Linked DNA regions of Homo sapiens: region 2 is linked to region 1. The links are contacts of gene promoters, found by promoter capture Hi-C in blood cells and fetal thymus (Javierre and others, 2016). All regions are on one chromosome and are shown on one strand. The core of a region is centred on a gene start or on the middle of the fragment in contact, and the rest is flanking DNA. Distances in the headings are between cores, read along the strand shown.

Region 1 (7,094 bases), core at 1,963-4,462:
GGCGACCAAGACACTGAATCCTCCAGCCTGCTCCGGGCGGATCAAGGCACAGGCCCACTGGCCCCAGCAACCTACACGGCCTCTGTTTCCCCTTCAGCACGATGGGAGAGATTGCAAAGCTTCCCAAGAGCTCAGGTCCAAGCCTCTCCAGGAAGTCCGCCACTGAATGTTTTTCCTAGAACAAGTTCCCACCACACTCCTCTTTTATCACCCCTCCCCGGTATCTTGTTTTTCCCATCACAATCCCCAAGCTGGGGAAGAAACTTTTCTTCCTGAAAGGCAGCCTGAAGTAGAAGCGTGGCCTGCTGAACTCTGCAGAGCCCGGATGTGTTTCAGTATACGACAGAGGTGCACCTCTCCATGGGTGCACCAAGGAGAGGACCACAGACATGCCACAGGAGGTGGAGGCTATGGGGATAGGGGCCCAGAAAGAGAGCACTGAGGAGGCCTCAGACATGAGGGGGCTGCAGATGCACCAAGAAGAGGACATGGCGTGGGGGGCACAGGCACACATGTCATGGGAAGCCACCAACACACCACATGGGGCCACATTCTGGAGCCACCACAGAAGGGGGTCTCTAGGGGGCCACAGAACCACCTGTGGGGTCCCAGATTCCACCTTCCTCTCACCAGAGAATTCTGTTTCACTTCATTTACAGGGTGGGCTTCTAGGTAAGACTTCTTCTAAAGGAAGTTTCTGTGGATTTCATGAAAACAACTGGCATGAAGGTGAAAAGCAAAGCTCTCTATCCAAAGACGTCATGATTCCCAACCCAGCCTCTCCCTGTGACGGCACCAGCTTGAGTGGGCAGCCAGGATGCCGACTGGCTCTCTCCGTGCTGGGGTGGGGTCAGGGCTATAGCCCACGGAGGAAGCCAGAGGGAGAACTTTAAAGCGGGGCAAAGTCCCAGTTCCCCAGTCCCATGGGAATGAACCCCAGTCGGGAGAAACAAGAAGAAACTTTCCTAGATGGCTTCTCATGAAGGTGCAGAGCAGGACCCAGCAGCGGCCGGAGACAGGCAGATCCAGCGTCAGGGCACAGGCCTCGTGACAACAGACCATGGGCAGGAGAACACACAGGAACGAGGGTGAAGTGGAACATTCCAGAAACACCACCGCTTGCCACCGTGGGGGACAGTGTGGGACTGCCAGCACCAAGCATCTGTGAGGAAGGGTCCAGGCTGCCTCTGGGCTTAGAGGCTTCCAACTTCCTGAGGACCCGATGACTAAAGTGTTGAGCCATGTAATAGGTATCAACTCCACTTCCTCACGCAGGCGAGAGAGGGTCTGCTTGTAGTCACACACGCAGCGTAAGACCAAGCCTTTGACTGTGTCGAATGGACAGCTTGTCATCTGCCTGCTGGAAGTTTAAGTTGCAGCAATTCACTCATTCCTCAGGCTGTGCAAACACTGAGCTGCTCATCTCGCCACAAGGGAAGATTAGTGATATGGTTTGGATTTGTGTCACCCCTAAATCTCATGTCAAGTTGGAGGAGGGGCCTGGTGGGAGGTGATTGAATCCAAGGGGCCAACTTCCCTTGCTGTTCTCATCATAGTGAGATCTCACGAGATCTGACGGTTTAAGTGTGTGCAGCACTTCCCCCTTCGCTCTCTCTCTCCTGCTCCACCACAAGATGTACCTTGCTTCCCCTTCTGCCATGATTGTAAGTTTCCTGAGGCTTCCTACCCATGCTTCCTGTTAAGCCTGTGAAACTGAGTGAATTAAACCTCTTTTCTTCATAAATTACCCAGTCTCAGGTAGTTCTTTATAGCAGTGTGAGAATGGATGAATACAGAAAATTGGTACCAGGAAAGTGGGGCATTACTACAAAGATACCTGAAAATGTGGAAACAACTTTGGAATTGGGTCATGGGAAGAGGTTGAAACAGTTTGGAGGACTCAGAAGAAATAGGATGATGTGGGAAAGTTTGGAACTTCCTAGACTTGTTGAATGGTTTCAACCAAAATGCCGATAGTGATATTGACAATGAAGTCCAGGCTGAGGTGGTCTCAGATGAAGATTAGGAACTTATTGGGAACTGGAGTAAAGGTGACTCTTGCTATGCTTTAGCAAAGAGACTGGTGGCATTTTGCCCCTGCCCTAGAGACCTGTGGAACTTCAACTTGAGAGAGATGATTTAGAGTATCTGGTGGAAAATATACCTAAGCAGCAAAGTGTTCAACATGTAACCATGTGACCTGGCCGTTTCTTTGTTTTATTATTTTTATTTATTTATTTATTTTTGGAGACAGATTCTTGCTGTCACCCAGGCTGGAGTGCAGTGGAGCGATCTCAGCTCACTGCAACCTCCACTTTCTGGGTTCAGGCAATTTTCCTGCCTTAGCCTCCAGAGTAGCTGGGACTACAGGCACACATCGCCACACCCAGCTAATTTTTTTTTTTTTTGTATTTTTAGTAGAGACAGGGTTTCACGTGTTGTCCAGGCTGGTTTTGAACTCCTGAGCTCAGGCAATCCACCTGCCATGGCCTCCCAAAGTGCTAGGATTACAGGCATGAGCCACTGCACCCGGCCAACCTGGCTGTTTCTAAAAGTGTATGCTCATATGCGTGAACAAAGAGATTATATAAAGCTGGAATTTATATTTAAAAGGGAAGCAGAGCATAAAAATTTGGAAAATCTGCAGCGCAGCCATGTGGTAGAAAAGAAAACCCATTTTCTGGGGAGAAATTCAAGCTTGCTGCAGAAATTTGCTTGTAAAGATGAGCCAAATAGCCAAGACAATGAGGGAAATGTATCCAGGGCATGTCAGAGACCTTCATGGAAGCCCCTTCCACACAGGCCCAGAGGCCTAGGAGGGAAAAATGGTTTCATGGGCCAGGCCCAGGGCCCAGCTGTTCTGTACAGCATCAGAATATGGCATTCTGCATCTTAGTTGCTTCAGCTCCAGCTGTGGCTAAAAGGGGCCAAGGTACAACTTGGGCCATGGCTTCAGAGGGTGCAAGGCCCAAGCATTGGTGACTTCCACATGGTGTGGGGCCTGCAGGTGCACAGAAGTCAAGAGCTGAGGTTTGGGAACCTCTGCCTAGATTTCAGAAGATATATGGAAATGCCTAGATGTCCAGGCAGAAGTCTGCCTGCAGAGTCCTCATGGAGAACCTCTACTAGGGCAGTGCAGAGGAGAAATGTGGGGTTGGAGCCCCCACACAGAGTCCTCACTGCAGCACTGCCTAGTGGAGCTGTCAGAGGAGGGCCACTGTCTTGCAGATCTCAGAATGGTAGATCCACTGACAGCTTGCACCATGCACCTGGAAAAGTCACAGGCACTCAACACCAGCCCATGAAAGTTGCCATGGTGGCTGTACCCTGCAGAGCCACAGAGGCAGAGCTGCCCAAGGCCATGGGAGCCCACTCCTTGTGTCAGTGTGGCCTGGATGTGGGACACAGAGTCAAAGGAGATCACTTTGGAGCTTTATGGTTTAATGCCTGCCCTGCTGAGTTTTGGACTCGCATGGGGCCTGTAGCCCCTTTCTTTTGCCCAATTTCTTCCATTTGGAATGGAAGCATTTACCCAATGCCTATACCCCCATTATATCTTGGAAGTAACTATTTTTTATTTTACAGGATCATAGCTGGAAGGGACTTATCTTGTCTCAGATAAGACTTTGGACTGTGGAGATTTCAGTTAATGCTAAAATGAGTTAAGACTCAGGGACTGTTGAGAAGGGATAATTGCATTTTGCAATGTGAGAAGGACGTAAGCTTTGGGAAGGGCCAGGGGTCAAATTTTGTGGTTTAGATTTGTGTACCCACCCAAATCTCATGTTGAATTGGTGAGAGGCCTGGTGGGAGGTGACTGAATCCAGGGGGCTGACTTCCCCCTTGCTGTTCTCATGATAGTGAGTTTTCATGAGATCTGAAAGTTTTAAAGTGTGTGGTACTTCCCCCGTCACTCTCTCTCTCCTGCTCCACCATAGGAAAATGTGCGTTGCTTCCCTTTCACCTTCCACCATGATTATAAGTTTCCTGAGGCCTCCCAGTCATGCTTCCTGTTAAGCCTGCAGAACTGAGTCAATTAAATCTTCTTTCTTCATAAATTACCCAGTCTCTGATAGTTCTTTATAGCAGTGTGAAGACAGACTAATATAATTAGAAAGTACACAGAGACCTAACTTTAGGTTCATTTCCAGAAGAGGGCCTGACCTGCTGCTCAGGGGTTAGTATTTCTTGCTTAGTCTTGTCTTTCTCATGGAGACACAGGCATACACACTTTCTCCATCTTCACATCCAGCTTCACTAATGGGTCATACTTTCCTTTCATTCCAAAATTTAAGCCAAATAAAAACTAGCCAGAACATTGGGCAATTGTTCTCCAAAAGGGAAATAAAAGAAGTCATTTATCTCAGCAGAAAGTATAACAACTCTGTTATGAGTTTATGGGTGAACCCAGGAATTGCCTTCCCTTTGGATCACCCCTTATGGCTCTAGTTCTGCCCAGAAACAGAAGGTTCAAGCCCTGGCCAACCAAAGCCAAGAGCTGCCCTCAGTCCTCATTCCTTGCTGGAAAACGGGCAGCCATATCCTTTTTCACAGAGGTGCAGAGGTCAAGTTAGTCACAGCTCAGCTCAGGATGTGGTTCTGAGGAGGCGACTGACAGGTGGCAATCGTCACTGATGCCTTGTTGCTGTTCTTCTCCAGTGACCATCGTCAGCCTCTGATTTATTCCCAGGCACCAGCAGCCAGGCTTCAGTCATCAGCCTTGCCCAGCTGAACACAGCTCCTGCTCTTGGACAGAGGAGGGTGGGTTTCAGGAGGGCAGCCACTCAGTCCCGCAGCTCGGGCCCAGGCTACCATGCTTCCTCTGGGCAGACCACTCTGTCCCTCAGTGAGCAGAGGGCTGGCATGTTAATGTCCCACTTGGAATTACTGAATTGACTCCCATCATCCTTGTATTCCTCTCTCTGTTCCTTCCCAGGACATAGCAATGCCTGAAGGGAGGAGCCTGTCCATGCCATCTGCCCCTCAGACACCAGCTCCGGCGGCGTGGATGCTGCTGCCTTCCAGGTGGCTGGGAGCCCGCTCTCACGTTTGGGGGTTAATGTCTGTGGAAAGGGAGGGTGCCCAGTTCACATGGGATTTTGCTCCCCTGACACAGAACGCAAGGATGCTGTGAGCTGAGAGTGAAGTCATTGTCCACCTCCCAGGGGCCACACTGCAGGTCCAAGTACAGAAAAGAGAGTGTCTTAAAGGAAGCCTTTGACTCTCTTTGGCTGAGTTTATGGAAAGGAAAATGAATCAAGCCCAAAATGGCCAGTAATGGCAGGGTCATTATTCCTTAAATGAAGCTCCACCTGCCTTTCCAACGAGGCAAGAACCAAATGCGTCCTTTGAAAGGAGGGCTCAGAGGTGCGGGTGCAGAACCCCATGCTCTCTTGAAGCGGTGTGGCCTGTCCCCAAACTGAGAGTCCCCATCTTCAAAACGGAGAGTTTGGTCACTTGAATTTTGTTGACATTTCTTACCTTGGGAAGCAGCTGGCTTCGTGCTGTTCGAAGTTGACCTCCTTTGCTCCAGATGGGAAGTGCCCCCAAAGCTGGCATGAACAGCTGTCACTCCCTAAGAAACTGCAGCTTTTTCTGAGGGCGGGAGCAGGTGCTCACCGATTTCCTTCTGTGGCGTGATCCTGAAGGAGCTAAGAGCCCACCACCCCAAAGGCATTGCTCTGGCTTTAAGCTGATCGCCATTCCATGTCTTAAAAGCAGGAGACGAAATTCTCATGTGAAAGATGCCCTCCCCATACGTTTGGGAAAGCATCTTTCTTATCAACAGTGGGAGGCCCAGACCCAGAGAGATTTCAGCATAGCCTCCTTAAAATCACTCTTCTTGGCAGCCTCCGCACACAATGTATTTTTCACAGCTTACTACTCCACCTCCAATTCAGGGTGCACAAAAGTTCTTTGAAAAGGAATGTAGAGGAAAGACTATTCCTATGAACAGTTTGTGAAGTGGGAGATGCTGCCTTCAGCGTAAAACCAGGATGCTTTCCAGAGAACAAAGAGAGGGTCCAGCTTTTATACTGAAAGTTCTCACATAGGTTCGCTTATGCAAATGAAAAATTCAAACTTCCTGTGTTCTGATGGGTTGGTTCAGGGGAGCTCTGGAAGTCCCAAAGTTTAACAGAGGTATGGGATTTCAAGGAACTCCGGGTACCCGTGTGACCTCTAGTCAGCAAACGGTCACTGGGCTCTATGAGGATTTAGGGCCGGTGAGCCACTAGAGATCCACCCATCCACTTCTTGCAAGTCCTGTTTGCTCACATGGGTGTGAGTGTCCAACTCTGTGGCTTTAGGGCATTCCTTCCATGGGAGGCTCTCCCACCATATAGAGCTTCCTTTAAATAAGCTTCCGTGCTTTCCTCCTGTTGATCTTTCTGCGTCAGTTAAATTCTCCGGTGCAGCCTGAGAGTCTGTACACAGGTGATCATATTCACAGGTTAATGTGCTCACAGGTGAATGTACGGGGAGGTGAATGTGTTCACAGGTGAATGTACTGGGATTAAATGTGCTCACAGGTGAATGAATGTACTGGGAGGGGAATCTGTCACAGGTGAATGTACTGGAAGGTGAAGGTGCTCACAGGTGAATGTACTGGGAGATGAAGGTACTCACAGGTGAATGTACTGGGAGGTGAAGGTACTCACAGTGAATGTACGAGTAGGTTATGTGCTCACAGGCGAATGTACTGGGAGGTGAAGGTGCTCACAGGTGAATGTACCAGTAGGTTATGTACTCACAGGTGAATGTACTGGGAGGTGAAGGTGCTCACAGGTGAACACATTTGGAGGTGATGGTGCTCACGGTGGAAGTATTTGGAGTATACCTGTGTATGTCTGTTCTTGCAGTGCTCTAAATACCTGAGAAATCTTACAATCATTGTGGAAGTCTAAGGGGAAGCAGGCACATCTTCACTTGACCAGAGCAGGAGGAGGAGAAAGAGAGGGTAGGTGCCATATGCTTTTTAACAGATCTCATGAGACCTCTATGAGAACATCAGCCAAGGAAGAAATCAGCTCCCACGATCCAATCACCTCCCACCATGCTCCACCTCCAGCTTTGGGGATTACAATTCAACATGA
Region 2 (7,094 bases), core at 1,507-4,006, 270 kb before region 1:
GCTCAGGTGAGTGGGGCGGCTGAGTTTGGAAATGCCCTTCCTCAGGAAAGTGTCCCTTGAGCCTGCCCACCTGGCACAGGCTCTCCAAGGAGGGCAAAATCTGTTAAGACACAGGAGACTCGGAGGCACGCGTAAATGGTTTTTAACCTCGAAGGACAATCCCAGACACTCAGGAGGCTTCCAAGAGGGAACCAGGAGGACCTGGCTGCCTGCTTCCCCTCGATTTGGTCTCGATGACCCGCATCAATTAGGAAATCTGGTGTCACTGACAAGGCATGCATGCTGGGGCCCTCACTAAGATGCACAGAGAGAGAGTGCGCTGTCTGTGGGTGTGGCCTCCCAGGGACGCAGCCTGCCCCACTGTTTTGGTGCCCATGAGGCCCCCAGGAGCCATAGGAGGGGACCCTGTGTCGCCGGGTCCTTTCAGCTGCCTCCCTGAAAGCTCCCTTGTGGCAGAGCTGCGGCCCAGATTGGATTCACCAGGAGACGGGTGCCCTGCTGGGAAACCCGGTGGCCTGCAGAGCCGTCTCCCATTCTCGGGGCCCTGCCCTTCTGGCCCGAGTCCCTCTGGCTGCAGTGTGGGCTTCAGCTCTTTCAGGCTGGTGGTCTGGTATGTGGGGTCCTGGTCAGCCCCCACAGCATGACCAAAAGGCACAGGGTTCCTCCAGGCCGGGGCGACTGCCAGAACCCTGTGGAGCCATCTGCGATGCCGCAGCTGATGGGGGCCCAGGTGACAGTGGCCCTCAGAGTCTAGCAGGTGACCTGGTGGCCCAGCCGAAGGGCCAGGTCAGGGGAAGCTTGTCTGGGGTCTGGGGAGAAGGGCCTGCTGGTGTCCACCCCAGGAGTGGGACCATCTGAGACCCAGCACATCCCAGAGCCCTGCTCGGCCCTCCTCACCTGGGCCTGCCTGCCCGGAACCCGCTGCCCGCTGCCCGCTGCCCGCACCTGTCCACCCCAGCATGGCCCAGGGTGCAGCGCCAGCACCCGCTGCTTGAAAGCTGCTCGCTCCCAGGCTCCACCGTGCACAGCGGCTGGTCTCTGGGTGTCAGAGCGGGGACTATCTGAGGTGCTGGGAGCCCCATCAGATTCCTGCCCAAGCCCGCATCTTAGAACTTGCCCTTCTGTGCAAAGACAAATAACTTCCCAGGCAGGCTCAGGCAGTCCCAACCCCTCCTCTTCCCAGGAGGCATGTGTCTGCCCCTCCATCCCCAGTGGGGATGTGAGCCTGTGACTCAGTTTCTCCTCCAAGCTAAACAAACTCAGGGTGTGGGTGAGCGCAGGGATCCTCCCCACAGGATAGGGCCCTGGGGGAGGGGGCGAGGACAGTGGCCAGGAAGTCCCCTGAGGCTTTGGTGAGCTGAGACTTGGGGACTGTCAGGGACTATAGTATCGGAGTGGCCAAGGTCCCCCGACCTGCCTCCAGTGGAAAGTGCAGGCTGGACCAGAGGCTCATGAAGCGCCCACCCCCGCAAGGCAGTGATCAACTCCTTGACAATGCTGGAGGCGAAACTGATTCAGGAAAAGCCCATTTCTGTTTTTCTTTAAAAACCTTCACATCACAAAGCCCGCGTGAGAGACAGCAGCTCTCCATGGTGAGAAGGAACAGGGCCCCCTGAGGGCAGACTCCTCTAAACGGAGGCTGAGACCTTCACGGCCCCCCCGTGAACTGCCCCAGGGCAGCAGGAAGCCTGTTTCCCAAGGGTGCCCGGCCCTCCTGGACCTTCCGCTGAGAAAGCAGCAGGTTTATGAGGGCAGCAGCTTTGGGGTTCGCCAAGCCCAAGGCTGAGTTCAAGTGTGGGGGTCCTAGGTACAGCCCCCTGCCAGGCCTGGGAGCCACTTCTCAGATGCTCAGGACCACTGGGCAGGAACACAAATGTCACCTCTGTGCCAGCAGCGGCCATGCCTACCTGGGCCGCAGGAGCCAGAGGAACGAGGAGCAGTCAGGCTTGTGTGTTGGGTGGGCACAGCGGCTCCCGGCCTCCAGGCCTGAGGGCACCTGGCTCAAGAGCCAGGCCCGAGTCCACAGGCTCCGGCTACCCACTCTGCTCCTCTAGGGTCACCTGCCCCCAACCCAGCTACCTCCTCTGCTCCCTGCACTGGCAGGTGTCCGCCTGTGGGGCTGGGACGAGAGGTGATGCCCAGGAGGGCCCAGCCCCGCGTCCTCCGAGGAGGGGCTGTACCGGGAGAAACACCCTTCCCCCGGCCCCACCCTCAGGCCAGAACGTTCCAGGACTGCCAGTCTGGAACACAGGGCCCTCCCTGGAGCCCCACACGAAGTCTTGGGGTCGTGCCGGCCAGGCCCATCTCCTCACCAGCAGCCTAGGAACCGGGCACGGGGGCCCGTGGGGGCCCCAGCTCCCCCCACACCCTGCGGCTTCTCCTCTCCCCTCCGTGCTTGGGGAGCCGAGGGTCCGGGGAGGATGTCTGCCCAGGGCCTCTGCGTGTGTCTGTGCTTCCCTGGCCACGGCCTCGCCCGCAGCCCCGCCCGGCCAGCCTACCTCCTCCGTGGCTCTGACACAGGTAGGGGAAGCGCCACACGTTGCCGAGGCCCACGCAGAAGCCCAGGCAGGTGAGCATGTACTGCGCCTTGTTGTCCCACTTCGGCCGGGAGCTGGCCTCCTCCTGCTCGATGGTCTCCAGCTCAGCCAGGGACGGGATCCGGGCGTCTAGGCCGGGGTTGGGCAGCACGAGCCTCACCATGGTGGTCGCTGGACGGCTCCGCACACAGCAGGCAGGGCAGAAGCTGGAGGGCGAGTGGCCGTGGGCCGGGAGCCGGGCACTTTATAGAGAACCTTTGGCACCTCGCCCCAGGCACCTGGGCAGAACGGAGCCAGTCGTCAGCAGATCTGCAGGGTGCGTCTGCGGAGGGACTGTTAATGCCTTATCTGCAGAGACGCCCGGCCCCGGGGCCAGCAGAGCCACCCACTGCCTTCGGGCAACCGGAGGCTGCTCCGTGGGCGCTGGCCACCCCTCCCCCTGCACAAACGCACACACAAATGCGTACAAACGCCGGTGCACCCCGGGGAGAAAGAACCAAGGCAAACAGGATGCTGGCTCTGCCCCGGTCTGGGAGCCCCTGGCTGCCGCACACCCCCACCTGCAGGACGCCGGGTGGGCCTCTCCACAGCTCCCTGGAGCACAGGCATCCCCGGCCCCCACCCCAGTCCAGGGAGAGGGAACTCAGCGGGAGCAGGGGCCCTGGGGCAGCTCTTGGTCTGCTCACACCAAGCACAGCGAGGCCCTGGACCCCTCCAGCCTGGCTCTGGGCTCTAGACGGCTGCTCGGGGGCCCGGCTTCCCACCAGTCCCCACGGAACCACGGCTCCTTGGGATGTGGCCTGAATCAACCTGAGAGTGGGGTTCCCGTGGCTGTGCCCCCTGGGCCACAGTTTCATTCTGGGGTTCGTAATGAACTTCATAATGAACAGCTCACGCTGCCCAACCCCAGCCTGGATGCCCGGATCCCATCCCTGGCTGAGCTGGAGAACATCGAGCAGGAGGAGTTCAGCTCCCGGCCATAGGTTCAGGACCCAGAGCCACCCTCTAGGGCAGCCTCGTCCCCAAGGGCCCTCTGGGGTCACGGGGGATGGAGGGTCCTGTGTCATGGAACCTGCAGCCACCCCAGATCCCCACCTTCCCGGTGACTGCACGGTTTCTGTCCTTCTGTGGAGCACTTTGTGGGGGGCAGTCCTGTGCCGGGCATGGGACAGCGAAGGAGATGGTGTTCCTGCTCCCCAGCAAAGAGGCCGTGCAGGGAAGCCACAGGGCTGACCACGGGGTCCAGGAGGGGCAGGAGGAACGTTGCGGGGAGTTCAGGAGAGGATCCTGGGGGTTGTGTCTCCAAAGCCAGAGTGGGATTCTCTCCTGGTTTTCCGCACAGGGAGTTGGAGGCCATCCTCTGTCGGGCGCTGCCCGTTTGGGCCCCCACTTGGGCCTCCCCTCACGTCTCTCCCATCTAGGAGACCTCAAGCTCTGGAATCCCGGACCAGCCTTCCTGAGGCCAGGGACGGTGCCACACCCTGCGCCTCCCCAGGCCTTCCTCCCGTTGCCTCCTTCAGCCTCTGGGCTCACCTCCCTGGGGGCCCTCGCTGGCCCCCTGCCCCCACTGCCCACATGGCTCCTTCCATAGCCGGGGCCTTCCCGGCAGGCATGGGACTTTCTCCCTAGCCTCCTGGTTCCTTTATCTCAGTCTGCACCGCTGGGCGATAAGGACCCAGAGCCGCCCCCGCCCCCACCTCCACCCTGCACAGGGCTCATCGACATTCGCTGAGTAATGGAGATGAAGGCGCTGGGGGCGTCACTCAGAGATGAGCGAGTTTAGGCGCCTGACCTTTGCCCCTAGGACACAGGAACTCAGAAAGGGAGGCCAGAAGGAAGAGATCACGTTTGCATTTAAGGACTCCTGGCTTCCGAGCACAGCGCAGATTGGAGGGAAGGGTGGGGACTTGGGAAGACAGAGAGAGAAAGACAGAGACAGAGAAAGAGAGACAGGGAGAGACAGAAACAAGGAGAGACAGAGAAAGAGAGACAGGCACAAAGACAGAAACAGAGACAGGGACAAAGACAGAGAGAGGTAGAGACAGAGACGAGGAGAGACAGAGACAGAGAAAGAGAAACAGGAACAGAGACAGAGAGAGGGAAAGACAGAGAGAGAAAGGCAGAGACAGAGACAGGGAGAGACAGACAAAGAGAGACAGGGAGAGAGAGAGAGACAGAGAAAAAAGAGAGAGACAGAGAGAAAGACAGACAGAGAAAGACAGGGACAGAGAGAGGGAGAGACAGAGACAGAGAGAGAGACAAAGACAGAGACAGAGAGACAGAGAGAGATGGAGACAGAGAGAGAAAGACACAGAGACAGAAACAGGGAAAAAGAGAGATGGGGAGACAGAGACAGAGAGAAAGAGAAAGACAGAGAAAGAGAGAGGGAGAGACAGAGACACAGAGACAGGGAGAGACAGAGATAAAGAGAGAGACAGACATAGACAGAGACAGAGAGAAACAGAGAGATAGAGACAGAGAAAGAGACAAAGAAAGAGACAGGGAGAGCCAGAGAGAGAGAAAGACAGAGACAGACAGAGGAAGAGAGACAAGGAGAGACAGAGATAGAGAGAAAGGGAGAGACAGAGAGAGAGAAAGTACAGAGAAAGAGAAACAGAGAGATAGAGGCAGAGAAGGAGAGAGGGAGAGACAGAGACAGAGAGAGGGAGAGACAGAGAGAGAGAGAAAGACAGAGAAAGAGAGCCAAGGAGAGACACAGAGAGAAAGACAGAGAGAGACAGAGAGATAGAGAAAGACAGAGACAGACAGAGAAAGAGAGACAGGGAGAGACAGAGATGGAGAGACAGAGACAGAAAAAGAGAGAGATGGGGAGACAGAGACAGAGAGACAGAGACAGAGAGACAGGAAGAGAGAGAAAGACAGAGAGACAGGAAGAGAGAGAAAGACAGAGAGAGACAGAGACAGAGAGAGATAGGGATAGACAAAGACAGAGAGATAGAGACAGAGAAAGACAGAGACAGAGAGAGAGAGATGGGGGAGACAGAGAGATACAGAGACAGAGAGAGAGAAAGACAGAAACAGAGAGAGACAAGGAGAGACAGAGATAGGGAGAGACAGAGAGAGAAAGACAGAGAAAGAGAGACAGGGATAGACAGAGACAGAGAGAGACAGAGATAGAGTCAGAGAGACAGAAACGGACAGAGAAAGAGACAGAGACAGACAAAAAGAGAGAGAGAAAGACAGATATAGAGAAAGAGAGACAGGGAGAGATAGAGACAAAGAAAGAGATAGGGAGAGACAGAGAGAGAAAGACAGAGACAGACAGAGAGAGACAGAGATAGAGAGAGAGAGGGAGAGACAGAGAAAGAAAGTCAGAGAAAGAAAGTCAGAGAAAGACAGGGAGAGAGAGAGAAAGACACAGACAGAGCAAGATAGACAGTGAGACACAGAGAGAGAAAAAGAGACAGAGACAGAGAGGGGGAAGAAACAGAGACAGAGTGACACAAAGAGACAGAGACAGACAGAGAGAGAGAGTCAGTGGCTGGCCCAGGCCTGGAGTGGGGACTCAGGAATGGCGGAGGGGACAGGACAGTCTTCAGATGGGGAGGACGTGTCTCCTGGACCCCAAGGACCAGCAAGGGAGAATGAGCGTGGGATGGTTAAGGGCAGGTCTTCTGAATGAGCTTTGTGGGAGAGTCCACACCAAAGACGATTGGAGGCATGAGCCCAGATGTGTGTGGAGGGTCCCTGCCCCTTGCAAGCCCCACTGGACACACCTGAGTTTCCCAGGGGCCTTGGGGCCCAACTTAAAGGGTGCCTGGGGCCAGTGGCCTTGAGGCTTCCTCCTCTCCCCAGTGCCTCTAGAAACTTCTGCAGAGGCAACCAGGTTGCGGGGTAGCAACCAAAACCAACTTGGACCACATTTGCTGGGCCACTGGCCCCATAGTTCTTAGTGCCCTCAGGCCCAGCATTCGTATATGTAAAACAAAGCGTAGTACCCAACTCTCACAGTACCGAACTCCTGCAGTACACAACTCCCACAGAACCCAACTCCCACAGTATCCAACCCCCACGGTACCCAACTCCCACAGTACCCAACCCCCTCAGTACCCAATCCCCGCAGTACCCAACCCCCTCAGTACCCAACCCCCGCAGTACCCAACCCCTGCAGTACCCAACTCCCATAGTACCCCACTCCCACAGTACCCAACTCTCACAGTGCACAACTCCCACAGTACACAAATGCCACAATACCCAACTCCCAACTACTCAACTGCCACAGAACACAACTCCCACAGTATCCAACCCCCACAGTACCCAACCCCTGCAGTACCCAACTGCCATAGTACCCCACTCCCACAGTACCCAACTCTCACAGTGCACAACTCCCACAGTACACAAATGCCACAATACCCAACTCCCAACTACTCAACTGCCACAGAACACAACTCCCACAGTATCCAACCCCCACAGTACCCAACCCCTGCAGTACCCAACTGCCACAGTACCCAACTCCCATAGTATCCAATCCCCACAGTACCTAACCCCTGCAGTACCCAACTCCCACAGTACCCAACTCCCACAGTATCCAACCCC

The links. Contacts are between HindIII fragments. The CHiCAGO score rates a contact against its expected background, and 5 or more counts as called.
Region 2: a contact is called between the fragment with the promoter of SLC6A19 here and a fragment that was not itself captured in region 1, in 1 of 17 cell types (M0 macrophages). The highest score is 5.6, in M0 macrophages.

What each region holds. Positions count from the first base shown.
Region 1 is chr5:930,319-937,412 of GRCh38, reverse strand. No RefSeq gene overlaps it. Among named protein-coding and RNA genes, the nearest start is that of TRIP13, 41 kb to the right of the region's middle. The HindIII fragment of the contact is 1,026 bases long and covers 2,700-3,725 here.
Region 2 is chr5:1,197,257-1,204,350 of GRCh38, reverse strand. SLC6A19 (solute carrier family 6 member 19) reads right to left here and starts at 2,756. Exons shown (of 12, transcript NM_001003841.3): 1 at 2,499-2,756. The coding sequence starts at 2,700. RefSeq lists an enhancer at 1-288. The HindIII fragment of the contact is 15,195 bases long and covers 800-7,094 here.